2 separate regions of the Homo sapiens genome follow, and region 2 is linked to region 1. Evidence: promoter capture Hi-C in 16 types of primary human blood cells and fetal thymus (Javierre and others, 2016). All regions are on one chromosome and are shown on one strand. The core of a region is centred on a gene start or on the middle of the fragment in contact, and the rest is flanking DNA. Distances in the headings are between cores, read along the strand shown. Region 1 holds the start of ZNF697 (zinc finger protein 697). Region 2 has its middle 28 kb from the start of ADAM30.

Region 1 (4,812 bases), core at 687-3,186:
TGGGAGGTGAACAGTCCTATCTGCATGCTTCTCATCAATTCTACATTTTAATCCAGGCCATCTTATCCGTGAGGTTAAGGATCTCTAGAGAAAGAGAACTCTAGCATAAACTTTACTTAAATGTAAGCTAAACCCTTCACCCAAATGTTTTAATCATATGGATTTAAAATGTGAAATGACAAGTGGAAGTGACACGTAATTATGACCTTATTTTTTGAAACAGAGTCTCAATCTGTCACCCAGGCTGGAGTGCAATCACGGTTCACTGCAGCCTCAAACTCCCAGTCTCAAACGACCCTTCCACTTAAACGACCGAGTAGCTGGGACTACAGGTACGCGCCACCACACCCGCTATTTATTTTATTTTACTTTTCGTAGAAACAGGGTCTCACTGTGTTGCCCAGGCTGGTCTTGAACTCCTGGGCTCAAGTGACCCTCCCACTTCGGCCTCCCAAAGTGCTGTGATTACAGGCATGAGCCACCAAGCCCAGAGACTTTTCTTTCTTTCTTTCTTTTTTTTTTTTGAGACGGAGTCTCACTTTGTTGCCCAGGCTGGAGTGCACTGACATGATCTCAGCTCACTGCAAGGTCTGCCTCCCAGGTTCATTCCAGTCTCCTGCCTCAGCCTCCCGAGTAGCTGGGACTACAGGTGCCCGCCACCACGCCCGGCTAATTTTTGGTGTTTTTTTTTTTAGTAGAGACGGGGTTTCACCGTATTAGCCAGGATGGTCTCCATCTCCTGACCTCGTAGTACGCCCGCCTCGGCCTCCCAAAGTGCTGGGATTACAGGCGTGAGCCACCGCGCCCGGCCTCCCAGAGACTTTTCTATCTGATTACTTTTCAAACACATTCTAGAGCATCCTAGAACTTGTCCTTTCCTAGTTCAGTTTATTACTTTCTGCTCATGCTCCAGGAGAGAATATAGCTTTTAGTCATTTAGTCTCTATGTGGTCCTTCCTTGATTTTCTAAGGGTCCTGAGTCTGTGGTCCCAGAAATAGACAAAAACATGTGCAGGGCATCATAGACTCTTGCTAGGCTGGAAGTAGAGTTCCTCTCTTGTAGCCAATGTCCTCTTCTCCTCACCCTTCCACTCCCGAAATACACACACTCAATATACAGTGGCCAGCACATCTGTTTTATGGGACCAAGAAGCTGAATCCTAAAGGTTAATGAAGGAAAGATACGCAGAAAGTCCAGCACTTTCCTAATTCAGCAGCACACAGGTTTTCACGTCTAATATTTAATTTACGTAATTTATTTTCAATCTCAATTTAATTGCTTTTCTTGAAAAGATGTTTGGGACAAGGTCAACAATGAGGGAGGAATGTCACCGGGTCGGGATCTGGAAACAATCAGCTCTGTATGGTTTTAAAGATGAAGCGCCAAGATCTTAAGGAACCTGAATTCCTGGTGAGCAATCAAGTTCTTTAATCGGCCCCCAGCAGGATGTCAACGGCGTAAAAGACAAAAAGAAAATCTATTTTAAAAGATAGATTTTGTGTTTTTAGATTAATTTTTAAAAAGCGAACCCACCACAAACTTCCCAGTTTTTAAAGAAAAGGCCTCTCCCACCGCAGAGCCCTCCCGAACCATGGGACAGCTCAGCGGCAGCGTCCCACCGGCTGCCCGCAACCGGTGCCGCGAGCTCGGAGTGCAGCGCTGGGATCTCGCGTGCTCCGGGACAGCGGGCTCCTTGAGCGCCGCGGGGCGGGGCGTGGGGCAAGACCCGCCGGCCGCTCCCTTCCCCACAGCGCTTAGAGAAGCAGCGAGCGCCTTTCCTCCTGTCCCGGAGTCCTAGCCTGGCCCGAGCTACCTCCAGGGCGCCCGCTGCTGCGGTGGCAGGAAGTCCCCGGGAACTACAAATCGAGGCATGCTGGGAACATTCTCCCGCTCCTCCCAGGAAATGTCCTTTGTCCAGCCCTACAGGAAGCCCCAGTGAGGAGTCAGCCGGGCAGCCAGCCAGCGAGCCAGCCAGCCAGCCAGCCAGCCAGCCAGCCAACCAGCCAGCCAGCGGGCCACCCAGCGGCCGCTGCAGCCGCCGCCGCCGCACAAGGGCAGACGCGCTGCGGTGCGGGGCTCGGGCCGGGGCGCTCGGTGCCCTAGCTCCTCGCCGCGCCAGCCGCCTCGCAGGTAGGAGCGTGGCTGTGGCTGGGCTCAACCGCCTCCCGGGGATGGGGCTGATCGGGACCAGACCCGACCGCTGCGGGGATGGGGTGTGTGTTCGAGTGCGGTGGCGGAACGGCTGGGCGAAGTTGTGCCTCGTAAAGTGGACCGTTGTCCGCTCCCCTGGGGCGCAGGGCCCCGGGCTTATGGGGTGCTCTCGCGCCCCCAAAGCCAGGACTGAGCTCCCTCAGGGGTATGTGGCGAGGGGCGGGGAGGAGGAGGCTGAGACTTGAGGGAGGAGACAGCGATGCAAGAGGGAATAGGACCGTCCCGCCGACCACCGAAGGGGGCATCAGAGACCCTCGGAGAAACCAAGCCCAGGGAGGAGCTTGGAAGGCAAGGAGAAGGTGAAGGGCTTTGTGTGCAGCTGTGGACCTTGACGGACTGCGCTCCCCTTGCCTTGTCTGTTCGTGCCTCCAGCCCCACTGGGGCTAAGGGAGGGTGGGGGGCTCCGAGAAGGGCAGGAGAGAGGCGGCAGGTCATCTTGGGTCCTAGTGAATGAAATGTGTGCCTCCCTTTTCCTCTCTTCTCCATTCTAGCCCACTCAAATGAGCGGCTTTGGGGCTGCCATCAGACCGGGCAAATGACACAATAAGGACGGGTGGGTGGAGAGATGGGCAGCAGCTCGCAGCCCAAGAGGGGTGGCCGTCTAGCCCCGGGAGGCATTCCAACCACACGTGTCCATGTAGGTAGGTGGTGGGGTGGTGGGCAAAGCTGGAACCTGCACCTCGCGGGGATGCCGAGGCTCAGGATTGTGCATGGAGGCACGGGTGAGGCGCGTGTTGGGAGGAGTGGGTGAGTAAAAGGTTGAGGGGGAGCAGCGACACAGAGGCGCTGAGTGTACCTTATGGCCAATGTACATTATGGCCATGCATCGGGAACTGACTACCACTTCCTCTGGGACTTTCCACGATTTTCCTTTTTCCTAACCGCCTCCCCCAACCGCCCCCGCCCTGCCTCCCCCACAGGAGTGAATCACCCACCCCTTACTACATGAACCCTGGGCTGAATTGAAGTTGGTGATGTATCCCTGTCCTTGTAGTGGGCATGTTTGTCCTTAACCTGTAGGATGACACCAATACTCCGCATCCCCTACTGCGTTACCCTCCTCCCTCAAGACTGAGCGTCTGGTAAATGCGGTTGGATAATGGCTAGCGAGTTAAATGTCTTTGAGTAGCTGTGGTGGATGAGTGGGCAACTTTGAATACAGTCCAAGTGTGACTGTTGTAACTGAACTCAGCATGCCTAAGGGGCCACACTCACTATCTCTCCTTTCTCCCCTCACCTGATTTTTTGTTGATGCCCCCAACTGTTTACCTTCTTCTCTCAACAAGCCAACATGTGGATATTATTTAATGTGGAATACGTTTGAGGAACCAAATGAACCTTTAAGAATGCCACTTATATGGCCAGGCAGGAGTATGCAAGGCTCATGGTCGAAAGAATGATGCTGTAGGACATGGAGAGAGCCCTGAGCCTGATATAAATGGCTTTCGAGGTGAAACAAAACATTTCTTCCTTAGCTTCTTTGGGAGAGATGAGGCATTTGAACTGAGATAAAGAATGGAATCGAGAAAAAAAACCGAGTTGTTTAGGATGAGGCCATGAGGATAATGAAGTGAAGGGAAGAGGCTCTGTGAATTTAGATGATTTCTAGTTAGAACATATTGGCCGTGTGTGTGTGTGTGTGTGTGTGTGTGTGTGTGTGTGTGTGTTGGAAGTGGGGGTTGTTGTTAAGGGAAAGTTGATGTCAAAAGTTCAGCCATGCCCAACAGAGAATAAGATGGCATCCTATTGAACAAGATCATAAATATGAAGTCAGGCTGCCCTTTACATTACACAAAGGAACACATAGATGGCTTTTCAGAACTACTGGGATAGAGGGGTAAATGGATGCTAGTCAGACAGAAGAACCGGCTGGATTGATGCGGCTGGATTGAAGTGGTAAATAGTGACCTCACATCAGCAGCATGACTAAGGCTCATGGAGTTGCATCACATTTCCTCTCCCTCCCCCACCAAAACTCTTTGAATTTCCTCAGAATCTACATTTTTTGCCTAATTACTAGTGTCCTGTGAAGGGAAGGAGAAAGGGTAAAGGTTGGTTGTAAGGATGATAAACTAAGGCAAGAAGGAGCTTGTCTGCTTATGTAGAAAGAAAAAAATAGCTACAGTGTCAGTAAGAGGTCTGGAGCTTGAACCTATGTCAGTACCATATGGGCTTTTCTTTGTATCTAAGATTCTACTTCTTTTTTCTTTTCTTTCACCTGCCCCTTAACAGGTTTCTCAGTACCACACACTATGTAGAGTTAATATAATCAACAAAAGTAACTCCTTACTTTGGGATTTAAAATTCTTCACAATTCAGTGCCTACCTACCCCTCTCCTTTACTGGACCTGTGCCACCCCAATTTACCTACCCATCCTTCGAGCAAATAGCTCCCCAGTCCTTGAAGATGCAACAGACATTCTTCTACCTCCGTGACTGTCCGGTTGAACCCCATGCTTGCTGGACATCCCTGTACCTGTCCCTAATTATTTTTGTACATATCCTGGCCCAGCTGATTAGCTCCCTTACAGAACTCTTCCCAAACTTTACAGTCAAAATTAATCTTACCCCTTGGTAATTTGTATTATTTCAATGACACC
Region 2 (4,812 bases), core at 798-3,297, 220 kb before region 1:
CAAGGGAAAGCACCATGGCGCACTCTTGTGGCCCCCGTGGGGACTGCAAGCAGAGCCCTAGGGGTCCTCCTGGCCCTAGAAGCAGTGCTAACCTGGAAGACCAACTTATTCTTTAAGTATAGTAGGCACCCGCGCGTGTTTTACTTTGTTTTAAAATCAGAGGAAAATAGAAGGAATCAGCAGGTGTAGCGCAAGTCCTTTGTCCTTGGTGATCCCTAGCAAGGAACTTCCCTCCTCCAGGGAAGGGGTCTTACCTGGAAGGCCCAGAGTAGAGTTCCTTCAGCTCTTGGAGTTCAGCCTCAGTTTATCTTTTCTCCTTTTCATGCTGGAGGATTTCGGAGCTCAGGGCAAGAGTTTTCTTGGAGGTCACAGTTGCTGCCCGTGTTAGGAGAGATGAGGAAGAATTCCATTATGCATTTTATAAATGGCCCAATTTTCTTCCAACCTACATGGATGAGCTGAAGTGAAATAATGGTTTAAGGAGGTCAAGTCACGAAAAAGGTCTCAGTGGGACATGGCAGCACTAGGGCAGCTCCTAAGTGAAAAACTCAGCGCCACCACCAGACAACTACTTCCTCAGTCCCATGGGCCTGGAGACTGTCGTGGGTGGGAGAAAAAGAGAGATACAGCCATGAGGGGAAGGTGCAGGATCCCAAGAGTGTGTGAGAAGAAAAAGAATAGTGAATAAAATGATTGAAAACAAAGGTGTTTTAAATTATGCTGGGAATGAGGAAGCTGTGATTACCTCCCTGTTGAAGTAGAGTCCCTTGAGATACCTCTCATCTGTCAGGAAGCCTCGTAAGACCCCACATCACCATAGAGCTGTTGACCACAAACAACAAGGTTCAGTATGCCAGAGCTCCAAGCCATTTGGCTTCCCTCTGAAAATCACATTATGCTGATTTATGAGGAGTGCTAATAAAATTAAGCTTATCACATACCATATATTGAGCAATTATGTACCAAGCTTATTAAGATCCATTGGAGTCCTAGCCTGTAATTGCTCAGTGGGTAAAAGTAAGTTTTCAGAGTGATGAATTATCTTTGAGTTACTGGTACAATATGAACTCACTTCTCAATGGGATAAATAGAGGCAGTATAAATAACTCTGTATAAAACTTTTAATAATAAGTATAAAAATCACCCACTTTCCAGATAAATATAAAAGATAATTCATTAAGAACAAAGAGTGCTGCTCAACTCCATTGTTCTTCAGAGAAACAAGAGTCTCTTTACGCCCTTCAATAAGCTGTACTTATCTTGACCTCTCAGTCCATGTAATAAAACAGAAAGCTTCAATTTGTAAGTTAAGATTACTGGAGTTCAAAACAGAGACCATAAAGTAGCAGTGAAAACTGGCATCATGCTTCTGGAGTTGGAAATGGGCACATACAAAAGAATATATGGTTTGGGAAGGAACTTCGGTAACATATTTAGTTTAATAGGGACCTAAAGGCCACGGAGTATTTGATCCATAAGCTAACCATGACCCTACACACTGATTATTCTGGTTTGACTTTGGCCAACAGTCACTATGTTTTTAAACTTTTATTTTAGGTTAAGGAGTATATGTGCATGTTTGTTATATAAACTCATATTCCATAGATTATTTCATTACCCAGGTACTAAACCTAGTACCCAATAGTTATTTTTTCTGCTCCTCTCCCTCCTCCCAACCTCCGCCCTCAGGTAAGCTCCAGTGTCTGTTGTTCCCCTCTTTGTGTCTGTGTGCTCACATTATTTTGCTCCCACTTATAAGTGACAACCTGCAGTATTGGTTTACTGTTCCTGAGTTGGTGTAGATAATGACCTCCAGCTCCATCCATGTTCCTGCAAAGGACATGACCTCTATTTTAAGAAAGGTCAGGGAATTGCATAAGAGAATATCCACATGAAATGGAGAAAACACAAAAGATCGGGTTGCAAATAAACCTTATGAGAATCATAAACCATACCTAGTTTCAAATTTTATTAATTGATATTATCATACTCAAGAAGAAAGCTAATTGTGAGACACACACAAATCACAAGTATGAGAGCACCACCATCATTCCCCAAAGAGCCTCCCTTCCATATTAGGAAATAATGTAGCCCAGATGTAATATAAGAGCTCTGTAAGTGATGTGCGAGATTGTAACTTACTTAAATATGGAGCCATTTTTGGTCATTTCCATTTGATAAAGCTGATAGTTGCATAGACTATGTGACAATTTCCAAGTAACAATGGCATGCAAATCTACAGATTCCAGGTCTCACTACCATGATTACCTATGTAGATCAGACACATCTTACTAAAAGCATTCCACATATAAGAAGGTTTCCAATAGTAAGGACCATTGGTGTATTTACCAGGCAGCCTGTCACTATCTGTTTACAATGAAAATTGACTGGGCTACCTTTTTTCTTTTCCCAGGCTATCCTTCAGTAAAGGGAGATCATAGCAGCTGAAAGAAACAGTTCTTTGTGTCTTTTCTCCAAATCATTTTGTGGAGATTTTAGCCAAATCAGCAGGAGTTCAATTTTCCTTGTCTAAGAAAAGGAACAATGATTCCTTCCAGCGTTGGCCATTAGTCAGTGCCAGATCTCAGAGAGTTAGTTCAGAGTATTATTCTTAGAAATAGCATGATAGCAATCCTATCTGGAATCATTACACACCTAAGAACACCCCTATGGTGTGCAATAATCTGTCTCTAAGGCTTTTTATTATATCCTGGACACATATCCTTTTCCCAGTGGTGAAACCAGTTTACAGGTACTGTTTAACCTGGGATGGGGCCAAGCAGAAGCCTGACCAAGCTTGGAATTGAGCTGCATACAAAGTTGGCTTCCATAAGGCTACATGATGTGAAGTTAAATTCCATCCTGAAATACTATTAGGAATACACATTCCAAATTTAAATGTATAGATATGGTATCTTTGGGATGGGTATCAAAGTTCTACGCCTGTAATCCCAGCACTTTGGGAGGCCAAGGTGGGCAGATCACGAGGTCAGGAGATAGAGACCATCCTTGCTAACATGGTGAAACCCCGTCTCTACTAAAACTACCAAAAATTAGCCGGGCGTGGTGGCAGGCGCCTGTAGTTCCAGCTACCAGGGAGGCTAAGGCAGGAGAATGGCATGAACCTGGGAGGTGGAGCTTGCAGTGAGCTGAGATCACGCCACTGCACTCCAGCCTGGGTGACAGAGCGAGACTCTGTCTCAAAAACAAACAAACAAAAAAAAAAAAACAAAGCTCTTGGTACAGGATGTGCTCTCAGAAGTTATGTTGCTGGACTCTGTAAAAGGCAACCATCCCCTCACCTACACACTTGGGCATTTCCTGTCCAAAGGCCTCTGAGACATCTAAGACATGCCAGCAATCCTACCTTTGAGGAGCTCCACCTTTATAGGCCCCCAAATAGTGAAGGTACCTGGGAAGTGGATTCTTCTCTGCCCACGGTTAGGCATTGGTGCTACACTTGGGCCTGGAACCCTGAGATCAGACAAAATAAAAAAGAAATTGTGAGGTGGGAAAGATATTTTATTATACTAAGCTATATAATTGCATTCTCCCTTTACCCTTCATTCCACTTCACAAATCTAGAAGACATTCCAGTGGGATCTGCACTTTACTTACCCTCATTCAAGCTGAGGACTCAATAATTAGAATAAACTACAAACCCAACCTTTATGTTTTGACTACCATGTGTTTCAGTTGAATATCAGGGATTTCATTTTCATTTTCAGAAAGGCTACTGCAGTGAGAGTGATAAGTAATGTGTTATAACTATGTAACATTACATTCCCTGAACTATCTATTTATTCAGAGTGTCAAATTCATTAGGCTAGTGTTCCTTTGACCACACATAGGAAACCCAACAAATCTTAAAAGTGTGGGGTCTGTGGGCTGGGATAGGGCAATATCAGCTAACACTTAGGATTCTCTCAGAGTTCACTGGTTCTTAAGTGGATGGAACCCTTGATTGTCAAGTTTCTGTATCTTTTCTTTAGGAGATTATAAGTCTAGATGCCTGCTATTTTCATGTTGACAAAAATGTGTACAAACTATGAAATGCCTTCCATATGTTCCTAACTCCCAAGACACATGTTTACTGAGTCCTTGATATGTGCAAGTTCCCCTTTGCATCCATCTCAGGAGGAGACTTCCTAGGAACCCAACCTATATCACCTGAGATCCCTGTTAGCCCCTCTGTACAGTCCTTCCCTGCTTTTGGTGCGTTTTTGCTCCTCAGGATTCTTCTAGTAGGACTATCCTTGGGCTACTGTAACCATTTTGCACCCAGTCCCCCAAAACGGGATGTATACGGGAGTGTATAATCCACATATCCCATTTATCTCTCTTCCCTCAAGGCATTAGCCAATCACTAACAGATGCAGCAGGAAATTTCGGTTTCATGGGCTGGGGAAGGATAGCTCTTAAACATAACTTACCTCCAAGTTCTGCTGCTGCTATCCAGATAAAGCTCCCTCATGGCACTTTGCCTGACATCACACATACACAGCAATTGACTCAAAATGGATATAGACCTAGTTGTAAGAGCTAAAATATAAAAGTTCAGGAGGAATCCATGGGAGAAAATCTTTCTGAATTTGGGTTAAGCAAAGAGTTCTAAGATAATACAGCAAAAGCACAAGCTATAATAGAAATCATTAATAAAATGGACTTCATTAAAATTAACAACCTTTCTGCTTCTAAAGAGACCATTAAGAAGAAAATAGTCATAGGCTGAAGGAAAATGTTTGCTAATCATACATCCTACAAAGGACTTGAATTCACAATATATAAAGAACTCTGTTAACTCAACAAGAA

The links. The method cuts DNA at HindIII sites, captures the fragments that hold promoters and counts their contacts. A CHiCAGO score of 5 or more calls a contact.
Region 2: a fragment that was not itself captured here is called in contact with the fragment with the promoter of ZNF697 in region 1 in 1 of 17 cell types (M1 macrophages); the score reaches 5.1 in M1 macrophages.

The regions. Positions count from the first base shown.
Region 1 is chr1:119,645,390-119,650,201 of GRCh38, reverse strand. ZNF697 (zinc finger protein 697) reads left to right here and starts at 1,936. Exons shown (of 3, transcript NM_001080470.2): 1 at 1,936-2,511. LOC124904389 (a long non-coding RNA gene) reads right to left here and starts at 1,886. Exons shown (of 2, transcript XR_007066506.1): 1 at 1,815-1,886; 2 at 1,226-1,478. RefSeq lists enhancers at 1,859-1,928, 1,100-1,940 and silencers at 1,999-2,058, 2,356-2,519. The HindIII fragment of the contact is 7,030 bases long and covers 1-4,812 here.
Region 2 is chr1:119,866,308-119,871,119 of GRCh38, reverse strand. No RefSeq gene overlaps it. Among named protein-coding and RNA genes, the nearest start is that of ADAM30, 28 kb to the left of the region's middle. The HindIII fragment of the contact is 1,503 bases long and covers 1,296-2,798 here.